Regions from separate parts of the Homo sapiens genome. Here all the other regions are linked to region 1. Evidence: promoter capture Hi-C in 16 types of primary human blood cells and fetal thymus (Javierre and others, 2016). All regions are on one chromosome and are shown on one strand. Each heading gives the region's core, a stretch centred on a gene start or on the middle of the fragment in contact. The rest is flanking DNA. Distances are from core to core; before and after follow the strand shown.

Region 1 (3,414 bases), core at 288-2,787:
CCTGATCCTGCCCCTCTCACTGACAGTCTCCTCGCTGCTCCCTACATCTTCCTCTCCGCCGGAGCTGTCCAGAAGGGGGATTTTGGACCCAAAGGAATCGGGATGAAAGGGGGTGGGTACTCAAGCTGAAAATAACACCCCCAGTTGGTGGGGTAAGGGCTAAAAAAGGCAATAGGGAAAGATTGTCCGGCAGAAACACCACCTGAGTTTACCTCCTCCTTCCCACCCCAAAAACCCAGTCACTAACTAATAAAGCTAAGAAAAGCCCCTTGCAAACTTTTCCAAACCGGAAGAGAAGGCCCTCTCCCCAACCTGGGGGGCTCTAGGGGGAAGGGGCTGGAGTTAGCAGCCCCGAATGGGCTCGCGGGGAGTTGGGTGGGGCGCGGGCGAGGGGTGCAGGGGCGGAGTACCTTCTTCAATGGACAGGAACTGGCAAAGAGTTTCAAAATAGCCGAGTGCGCTCCCCCACGCCCTGGGGGGTCCCGGGCGCTAGGACCAGGGCTCCCCGGAGAGACAGCGGCCCCCAGTTCGGGCCTAAAAGGAAACTTTCTGGGCCGCGGCTGCACCTGACTCCTCACCGCCCCTCCACCCGACCCCACGCCCGCCAGGCCGCCCGCCCCGCCCCGCCCCGGCCTGGCCGTCCGGAGCGCGGAGGAGGGGGATAAATAAATTCAACTCTTACCGGAATCTGGGGGCCGTCTGCGAGAGACCCGGGGGAAGGGGAGCCGGGCGCCCATTCCCCACTCCCCACTCCTAGGCCCTGACGCCCCTGTCCCGGCAGCCCGGGCCTGCCGCCCCGCGGGAAAGCCTCCGGGCCGGCGCGGGATTCGGCCCAGCAGCGCCGCCGTCCCACCCGGAGACCCCGGGGGACTCGAGGGGGCGCGCGGAGGCCCGGGGTGCGGGGGCAGGGCGCGGCTGCCGTGGGGCCTACCGGCCCGAGGCCTACCGGCGCCCCCCCCTCCCGCCGCACACCCCCACCTGGCCCGCGCAGGCCGCTCCGCTCGCCCCACTCCGGCTCCGGCTGGACCCCTGCCCGCCCGCCGTCGCCGCCCGCGGGCGCCCCGGAGGCCCTCAGGCCCCCGGCCTCCACCACCCGGGCGCCGGCCCCACTCACCCTTTCATTCTCCGCCCGGGGCCTGGCGTGGGCCGGCGAATCCCCGGCCTCACGTAAGCGCGCTCGCCGCCCGCCCAGCCTGCGCGGCCCAGCCCGCCGCCCTACGGGAGCCCGGGGATGTGGGCCGGGCCTGGGGCCGCCTCTGCTTACCTTTCAGCTGCTTTTTTTTTTCTCCTTCCCCCCTGTTCCCTCGGCTGGGCTGACAGATCAGAGTGAGAGGCGCTGGCAATGGACTAGGAAGCTCGGCTGCCGCTGCTACTGCTCCCCCCTGGGCTCCGGCGAGAGCCTTTCCCTGTCAAGCAAGAGGGGTGAGGATCATATTTTTATTTTGGAAACTAAAAAGTGCTCCCAGGGTCGGTGATTATTAAGGGGAAATCCCTGAATATACTCTCCAGCCAAGAAGGCAGGGCTGCCGGGGCTGTACAAGAAGAGGCAGCAGCCTCCTACAGCACCACTACAGGCACTGCGAGGACATAACACCAGAGAGCTGCTCCTCTGCCCTCCGAAACGACAACTTTCCTACCATCTTGGAGGCAGAGCAAAGGGGGGCCAGGGGGAAAAGTGCACCCGCTCCCGATAAAGTACAAATTTTTACTTCTCATCTCTGGAAAAAAGTCCACACCGGCCGTCTACACCCGCGCCTGGGGGAGAAAGCAGGGAAGAAACGGGGGGTGCATGAGAAACGTTTTCATTTGCTCCAGGGGGAAAAATGTTTCTGCATCTTCTGATGGAAAGAAATCTTTACAAGACACAGGTTTTCCGGTGGTTATTGTTTTTTATTTTCTGTTTTTAATTTTTTTCATGTTAGTGACAGTGATATTTTAATATTTTTTTAAGCCAGTAATAATTTTTCTCCATTACAGGGCTAAGTTCTGTGGCTGGTGGTCAGTTTGTAAATTTATACTTAAAGAGACTTAATAGTAACTTCATTTATTTGTCTGGTTATGTTATTGTATATATAAATATTTATGTTTTCATATATTGCATATAAAAATTTGTGTTACATGTTACTCTCAGAACAGATTGCTGTAAGACAATTGTAAAAAAACATGTCTTTCGTCTGTTTCTCAAAGCAATGTAAATAAAACCTATGGACTGTCCAGAAAGGCATGATACAGTGTGTCATTTTCCACAGTGCAGATAAAGGCAGCTATCACTGGGGATTTAAAAACGGCCCCTGTTTCTGGAAATTCTGTTATGCTGCCCATACAGAAAGGATACAGTAAAACTGGAAAGAGATTTTAAAGACAGCCTTAGATTTTTCTTGAGGTAAAATAGCTTATTAAGAATTATATCCGGGCATTTAATTTTTTTATTTATTTAGATTCTTTAAACTCTAGCTAGATCTTTGGTGCATTACACATGTTGCTATCTGCTTTTTGTGTCACAGAATTGAGAAATGTGGCTATTTTTGTTAGTTATGTTAGTTCAGAACTTCCAATGTGCTGCCAGCCTGTATGATAGACTTTTTGTATATTGCAGTGGATGTCATGAATTTACTTTTTTAAATGAGCAAAGCTTACTAGATAAATGGGATCAGAGTTAAACAATGCTGTTAGCACAGAGGTGAGAGGGACAAAGGGTACCCATTTACATCGATTCCAATAGAACGCTTATTGGAGGATAAATTGCAGAGACATTTTTCTATTTTTGTGAAGAAAGAGAAAAATAATAGAAAAAGAACCGACTATCTTTGTATGTTCTACTGGGGATGATGATTTAAATCTTGTATTAAAAGTTATTTTTCTAACACATGTTGACTAACCTGGCAGGAATGAATTTGTTATATTAGTGCCCTGAATCAGTAGAATATTTAATTTCTTTGTAAAATTTATTACACAACATTTAGAAATAACTTCCAAATTTAGAAATTGTCCTGATTTAAAAGTGAGTTCATGTAATGCATATATCGGATATTTATTAGTTTCTAGCTGAACCTTATCTTTATCATATAACTTTGAATATAGTACTTACCTAAATATTCTGGATTTTCTTTTTTTTTTTTTTTTTTTTTTTGAGACGGAGTCTTGCTCTTTCGCCCAGGCTGGAGTGCAGTGGCCCGATCTCAGCTCACTGCAAGCTCCGCCTCCTGGGTTCACGCCATTCTCCTGCCTCAGCCTCCCGAGTAGCTGGGACTACAGGCGCCCGCCACCACGCCCGGCTAATTTTTTCTATTTTTAGTAGAGACGGGGTTTCACTGTGTTAGCTAGGATGGTCTGGATCTCCTGACCTCGTGATCCGCCCGCCTCGGCCTCCCAAAGTGCTGGGATTACAGGTGTGAGCCACCGCGCCCGGCCTAT
Region 2 (3,414 bases), core at 672-3,171, 2.2 Mb after region 1:
CAGGGAGCATAGAAAATGACTGCAAAGCTTTATTTGAAGCATGCAATAGTTTGTTAAAAAGCAAGAAAACAAAATAATGTTTTGTTTATTCTGTTCTCCAAGGATTTAAAAGGTTTTTCAGCTCTTAAAACCTGCCTCTAGATTTCTTTTTGGTTCCCTTATCTTCCTTTCTTAGATCTCCTACCCAACTCATGATGCAAACAAAGAGATAGTAATCTTGACATATTTCCAAATAAAAATAACTTCCAACTGCTTCGACTTTAGATAATTCATATAAATCTAACAAAGTCATGTCCTTTGTTATCTTCTTGCATAGGAAATGTTGATCCAATCCCAACTCCAACAGGAAGTATGATCAGTAGTTTTCAAGTTCCTAGGAACCATTTCTCATAAGGAGAATCTATCAGCAAATTATTAGATTTTTTGCTTGTCTTCTTAACATTTCTAAGAAGATAAGAAAGGAAGGAACAAATTGCCCAGACCACTGTCCAGCCTACATAAAACAAACTACCTGCTCCATTCTCCTGAAAAAGAACCAGTCAGTGATAATAATAGGAATTTTGGAAAAATTTAAAACTTGTTTGAGCCTCCAAAAATTATCTAGTCTGCAGCCACCAAATTTTTTCCTCCTAGTCATAGTGACTCCCCTTTAAAACTCCTCATGATTCCACACTAAAGAGGCTCAAAGCATCTTTAGTTGCAGCCATTATAAGGAAAAGAACCCTGCCAGTTCACCTACTGTCATGTAAAGTCCTGAAACAGGAGTTCCTAAGATGCTTTTTTTTTTTAACCTAGTTGGAAGATGTTTTTATGCCTAATTTCTTATGTTTGGTTGACTTCTGCAAGTATTTATATCTTATCATGATTTCAATATAGACATCAGCAGCTTAGGTTTAGAACAATTAAAAAGTATGTTTAATGACATTATGTGAATTAAATGTCTCCACTCAAACAGGTCCTTAGGACAAATTTTGATGACTAATTCTGGGCTGAGGCAAACACACTTAGAGTTGCCAATAGTTTGGCTGAAACGTGTTGCTCAATATTTTTCTATGCCAGTCTTCAGCCACTTTACCCTTTTAAAAATTCTATCTCTACCTAAAGGTACAAAGAACAGAAGCAAGTTTATGAAAAACACAGCGAAAAAAATGAGAGAATTACATAGACTTTTGCATCTGTCCCCAGGCACTTTACACACAGGGCAAAGGGACACAGGATTTAAGGGAATTTTGCTGGAAAGGAGGGGTTCAACTAAGAAACATCATGAATTCTTTCTGCACTACAATTGTATGAAAAGGGCAAAAGGTGAGGCATGAAAAGGAAACAGGTCCATTGACTAAGTAAAGTGATAGAAAATTGAGTTTGAAATGACAAAATTGTGTTAACTGCATTTAGTTTACTGTTTCTTACATCCTCTCTTATTTCCCTTTTCTCAATACATTGTACTATTCTTAGCCACTGTTTTATTACAAATAAAACCTTCACAGGAAACAGAAGGTTAGAAGAATCTGAAAATCATTCTTTCCCTTATAATTCTTGACTTTTAGATGATAAATCCAGTTTTTCTAGCAGTATGTTAAAATTAGAAGATTCATCTGAATATATTTAGGCTTAAAACAAACTTTATTCACAAAACACAGCTATATCTATATAAAAAAAGCTAACTTCACCTCAAAATAATTCAGATTATATTCTTTTTTTTTTTCCTGTTTCTCCTTCCCTTTTTTTTCCTTTTTTTTTTAAAGTGATGGGGTCTCACTCTGTTGCCCAGGCTGGACTTGAATTCCTGGTCTTGAGGGATCCTCCTGCCTCTGCCTCCTAAGTAGCTGGGACTTCACGTGTGCACCACCATGCCCAGCCAGATTATCCTTTCTGAGTTTGCTACACGGAGGGGTAACTCATTTACCTATGTAGATCCAATTCCACGTAGGGAAAAATGAGTTTCTCTTTAATCAATTCCCAAATGATTCGTGTCATTTCATCTCCTTGCATCTCTACCACAGAACCGCCACTGATTTTTTTGGACATTTTGACTTCAATAAACCTAAAAAGAAAAAAAAAATACATGCCTTGTCATTTATTTCATTATAAAGTGAAATATATAAACAACGTAGTGTTTATATAAACAACGTAGTGACTACTAAAAGAACAATTCATGCAATTCAATTTATGTGTAGTTGAATAAAAAGCTAGTAACAGCAATTCTATTTACCATTAGAATTGAGTATCTTCTCTGAACAAAGTATTGTGTTATGTTTCACACGCGGTTTCTGAGCTAGCCCTCATAACAATCCAAAAAAATGGCCATCATTTCCCCATTTTACTTTGTTAAAAAAAAAAGAGCTTTCCCAAGGCCACCTAGCTAGAGCGTGGCAGAGCCTGACCCTATAACGTGCCCTTCATAATGCAATCATTATTCTCAACTACTGGTTTGTCTTAAGAAATGAGATTATTTCCACAATCTCATGTTTATTGAACACTTCAGTCCAACTCATCATTTTACTGGGCTCTCAAGATGTCCAGAATGGTGAGTGCTAGCATTTCTCCTCCTTTAAGAGGCTGTTTTTGTTATTTAATAAAAATAACTAGCCATGAGGAGATTCAGCTGGTTCCTGTGACCCATATTCAGGGAAACTTTAAGTCTAAAAGCGAGACGAAGAATTCCTGGTGGAACTGTTTTCCTAGAGATAACACAGACATTGGAGATGTGGGGCTAAATACAACAAAGTGATTTCTCAATTAGAAGAATCTCTATACAGTAGGGCCACTGCCCAGGACCCAAGCATGTCCCTGTCATCTTCTTCTGGCTGTTCACAGGCAAGGGTAAGCTGCTAGTGAGTGGGATAGGACAAACTGTGCATTGTCCTAGGAAGACAGCACTTTAAGGATAGGGTGTGGGGGTAGCATATACAAATCAATCTGATTCTCAGAAAGTGCAAGGTTGGACGCTTTGGAAGAAATGAAACTGTCCCAGCTTGTCCCTAGAGGCAGAAGAAGCTCTGAGCCTGCTAAAAGTTATCTATTCCTTCTAATGATGCTCTAATCGAAACTCTTTTTTAATCCAACAACACAGCTGCAAATTGCTTTTATTCTCTTAAGGACTAAAAAAGTCAAGAGAATTGACTTTAAAGAATTATTAGATAAGAAGCCTAAAATAGTCTTTCTTGAAAAATTGAGCTAAAGTAATTTGGTCTTTAAATAAAAATGTAATGATTAGTAGACAGTAAGCGTCTGTTTCTTGACAAGCCTGGATGTATTTCCAATCCCCAGGCCCATTTTCACTTCCCAAATTCGCAATTCTAGAATTCTTCTTACTAGTGTTTAGGAGATTCCTTTGGGGGAACCTTCTGGAACTGAACTAGACTAAAAGAAATGAACAGAATGGTGTGGATGAGTCAATTACTTCCCATTTGT
Region 3 (3,414 bases), core at 557-3,056, 2.2 Mb before region 1:
ATGTGCTCACCTCCTAAGGGTAAGGAGGGCACTGCACATGCGGGCAGCCCACCCTAAGGGAAGAATCCTGTGAAAGAGGCCAGCCTATAAAGTCCTAAAATCAAGGTTAAACACCACACTTGACCTTGGGCCTCTTCCAAGCACATGCTCCTTTTTTCTGTTCTAAAGCTTTTTAAAATAAACTTCTATTCCTGCTCTGAAACTTGCCTCGGTCTGTATTTCTGCCTTATGCTTCTCAGTCAAATTCTTTGTTCTGAAGAGGCAAGAAATGAGGTTGCTGCAGACCTGTACAGATTTTCTGCTGGTAACTAAGATACCTTCCACCGATAACATAATGATTTCTAGGATGGGGGACACAGAGGAGCATTGGGAGGTTGCAGAAAAGCCACTAAATGGACACTAGTTATGGGGGTGGTTGGGAGTGAATGACATTGGTTTGATGTCTTTGATGAATCGATGGGTATGGAAGCAAAGGCCTGAAGAATGGTGGAATATCTGCCAAAGAAGGTAGGCTAGAGTGGTGAGGAGGGGAAGCACAGACAAAATGATGGCTCCTGGCAGTAGAAGGAAGAGTTAGTTTGGGGAATTTGGAGAACTTCATGTCATTCAACGTGATGGAAACATTTGGTACAGAAGGAAGAAAGAACAAATGTGGCAAGAGATGAGGCCGAACTGGGGAAGGAGTTGCCCTTCATAAGGAATCTTGAAGGGGTGTGGGCCTTACCTAAGAGAGGAAGCCAGTGGAGGATCCTGGGTGGGGCGGGGACACAGATGAATTCTATTTACATTTTACAAAGATTACTCTGGTTGTAGCATGAAGACAGACCAAAATGGGACAAGGGTGGGAATAGAAATGACAGAGGCCTGATCTAAGTCAGTGACCTTGGCAAGCGAGGAGGAAAAAATACTTGAGAGACAGTTAGGAAGTAGAGTAATTGGGGTTTATCGGTGAATCAGCAGGAAAAGGGAGAAGGCTGGTTGGTGGTACCACTCAACAGTATAGGCAAGGTAGGAGTTGAAGCAATTGTGATTAGGAAGGACCTCTCACTTTTGATGCTTGTCCCTTTCAGAATGGCAAACCAAGCTTAGGTGAAGCCTAGATATTTGGGGGTTACTTTCTAACCCTATTGCTTGGACTCAACCATGCTGGTGTCTGAGCTCCTCTACTCAGACAAATGTTGCTTTCAGTAAGTTGCAAGCAAAGCAAAAGAAAGACATTCACCTACGGCCCTTCAGAAAAGCAAGCATGCTGCATGATGAACTCTGGTGCCCAGGAGGCAAGAAATAAAAAACACTTTTAATGTAACCAACTTTCCATGCCCCACCCTCACCCCAGGCGTCTGCATACACAAATCAAAACCATCTTAAGTCATGGAATGAAAAAAAATTAAAAGCAAACTAAAAGCACTTCCTGTGAGGTGAATGGAAATTTTTGCCCAGTTAATTTTCCAGGCACGTGAAAGCAGTTCTGAATATTTTAAACCACAAGTACTTGTATTCTTGACCAAGATTTTTGAGAAGGCGAGGCATGGGAAGGATCATTGAAACAGGACTTTGACATAAAACATTGTTTACATAGAAGTGAGCTCTTCTCCACTATCGGATCAATTTACCACCCAGTGTCTGACAAACTGAGAAGCGAGAGGGTTGGGAAAAAGCAAAGAGATACATATCAAACAAAACCACACATATCCAGTTGAACTAAAGCTGAATTTAACCATAACTTGTGCAACTTTTCTCCCCTTGAGGTAGAAACATTACACCTCCAATTGACCAGGACATCTTTTTTTGCATTCAAATTATCTTGGAATTTCCTCTAGGACCTAAGTATCCTTCCACCATGAAAATAGGAGACCAAAAAAAGTAATGCTTCCAGTAATTTCTAGCCAAATAAATGAGGATAAGTGTGTGAGTGTGGTGGGGTAGTTAAGAGTTTGGAATCCAGAGTTTCACTGTCTGGATTTGAACAGGCTCCGTTGCTCATCAGCTCTGTGACTCCGGGCAAATGACTGAATCTCTCTAACTCTCAGTTTTCTCATCTATGAAATGAGAATAAGTAACAGACTCTCCCTCGCTGAGTTGTTTGAGAACGGGATCAGACAATGCACGTGGAGCCCCGTGTCTGGCACACACTATGTCCTCATTGCATATTTATTATTAGGTTTCTGCTTTGTATTTTTCTCTGTGCAACAGCCCTGAGCTCTAGAACTTATGACAGCTTTTCTCAAGTGAAGTTAAAGTTCCCCATACTCAGTTCCAGAGCTAGGCCTCACCTAGGTTGGAAGAAGTCAATTGTTCTCCACTGCCTGCCTGTGTGCTGGGAAAGGACTCTAGCACAGTGCCGGTGGGGCTGGAAGCCTTTCCTCATGATGCTACGGGGAGTACAGTGAAAAGGGAGGAGATTGGGGTAGCAAGGTCCCAGGGGTCCTGGCAGCCCAGGCTCTACTTCTCAGGCTAGCTCAGTCCCTCAAACAGCTTCCTTCACACCCACTGCTGAGACCCAGGAGCCCTACAGAAGGTAGCTAGGGGAAGCTTCAGCAGCTAGGGGGATCCCTGCAGGATCAGCCTCCTCCTTACCTTGCAGACCCCTTGGCTGTGGTCTGGCATTCCTAGTGGCTGGCCTAAAGCCCCAAACCTGGAATCTGTTTCAGAGCCTGGACCTTTTGGACTCACACCTTGGTTTCCCTGGCCAGCTGATTTCAGCTTCTCATCTAAATGTCATTTCTGCAGGCTAAGGGAAGTCCAGCCTGGATCTAGCATCTTGGAAGCGCGTTCAGACTTCTGGATGGAGGGATCAGCAGGCCTTGGTATTGGTGGTTCTACCTGCTTCGGTTAAGAGTGAGGACTCTGGAGCCAGACTCTCTAAATCATAGCACTGACACTTACTATATGACTTGGGCCAGGTTCGTTACCTGTCTGTGCCTCAGTTTTCCTCATCTGTAAAATGGGAGATTAGTGGTCACCATTGGGATGATTAAGAAGATTAAATGAGTTAATGTATGTATAAACTATAGTTATAATGTAAATATATATACAAACAGTAACCATTTACATGCATATAAAACATAATATAAATGTAATATTAGCTATATTCATATATAAAAATAGGTATATTTTATATATAAAATATATTACATTTAATTTTTTACATTTTGCATTAAGATATATTATTTCATATAAAACATTTAAGTACATATACATATAATTATCTATGTAATTATTATTGTTATTGTTGTTATTGTCTACTTTACCTCCCTGCAGGGATGGGGAGACCACGGCAGGCTTTTAAACATTCTTGGTCTCACTGAGCCGTAGGTGAGGAATCCCTGGTTCCTACAGACTCTGCTGTAATATGAGGAGCAGGGTTTAAGTTAGTTTAAAACTGACCCCATCATTTGAAACATTGCAATCTAC

The links. The method cuts DNA at HindIII sites, captures the fragments that hold promoters and counts their contacts. A CHiCAGO score of 5 or more calls a contact.
Region 2: a contact is called between a fragment that was not itself captured here and the fragment with the promoter of INO80D in region 1, in 11 of 17 cell types (non-activated CD4 T cells, neutrophils, fetal thymus and 8 more). The highest score is 11.8, in non-activated CD4 T cells.
Region 3: a fragment that was not itself captured here is called in contact with the fragment with the promoter of INO80D in region 1 in 2 of 17 cell types (naive CD8 T cells and total CD8 T cells); the score reaches 8.3 in naive CD8 T cells.

Annotation. Positions count from the first base shown.
Region 1 is chr2:206,084,637-206,088,050 of GRCh38, forward strand. It overlaps INO80D (INO80 complex subunit D), which reads right to left and starts at 1,538. Exons shown (of 11, transcript NM_017759.5): 1 at 1,265-1,538. It overlaps INO80D-AS1 (INO80D antisense RNA 1), which reads left to right and starts at 19. Exons shown (of 2, transcript NR_186084.1): 1 at 19-112; 2 at 1,321-2,868. RefSeq lists silencers at 269-563, 465-514, 555-754, 775-944, 1,025-1,234 and enhancers at 1,285-1,574, 1,301-2,120, 1,625-1,674, 1,685-1,794. The HindIII fragment of the contact is 4,007 bases long and covers 1-2,630 here.
Region 2 is chr2:208,249,524-208,252,937 of GRCh38, forward strand. IDH1 (isocitrate dehydrogenase (NADP(+)) 1) reads right to left here. Exons shown (of 10, transcript NM_005896.4): 3 at 1,907-2,044. The coding sequence starts at 2,028. Among named protein-coding and RNA genes, the nearest start is that of IDH1, 3.8 kb to the right of the region's middle. The HindIII fragment of the contact is 3,792 bases long and covers 26-3,414 here.
Region 3 is chr2:203,932,857-203,936,270 of GRCh38, forward strand. It overlaps LOC101927840 (a long non-coding RNA gene), which reads right to left. Exons shown (of 4, transcript XR_427213.4): 3 at 3,252-3,345. Among named protein-coding and RNA genes, the nearest start is that of ICOS, 2.2 kb to the right of the region's middle. The HindIII fragment of the contact is 1,448 bases long and covers 1,083-2,530 here.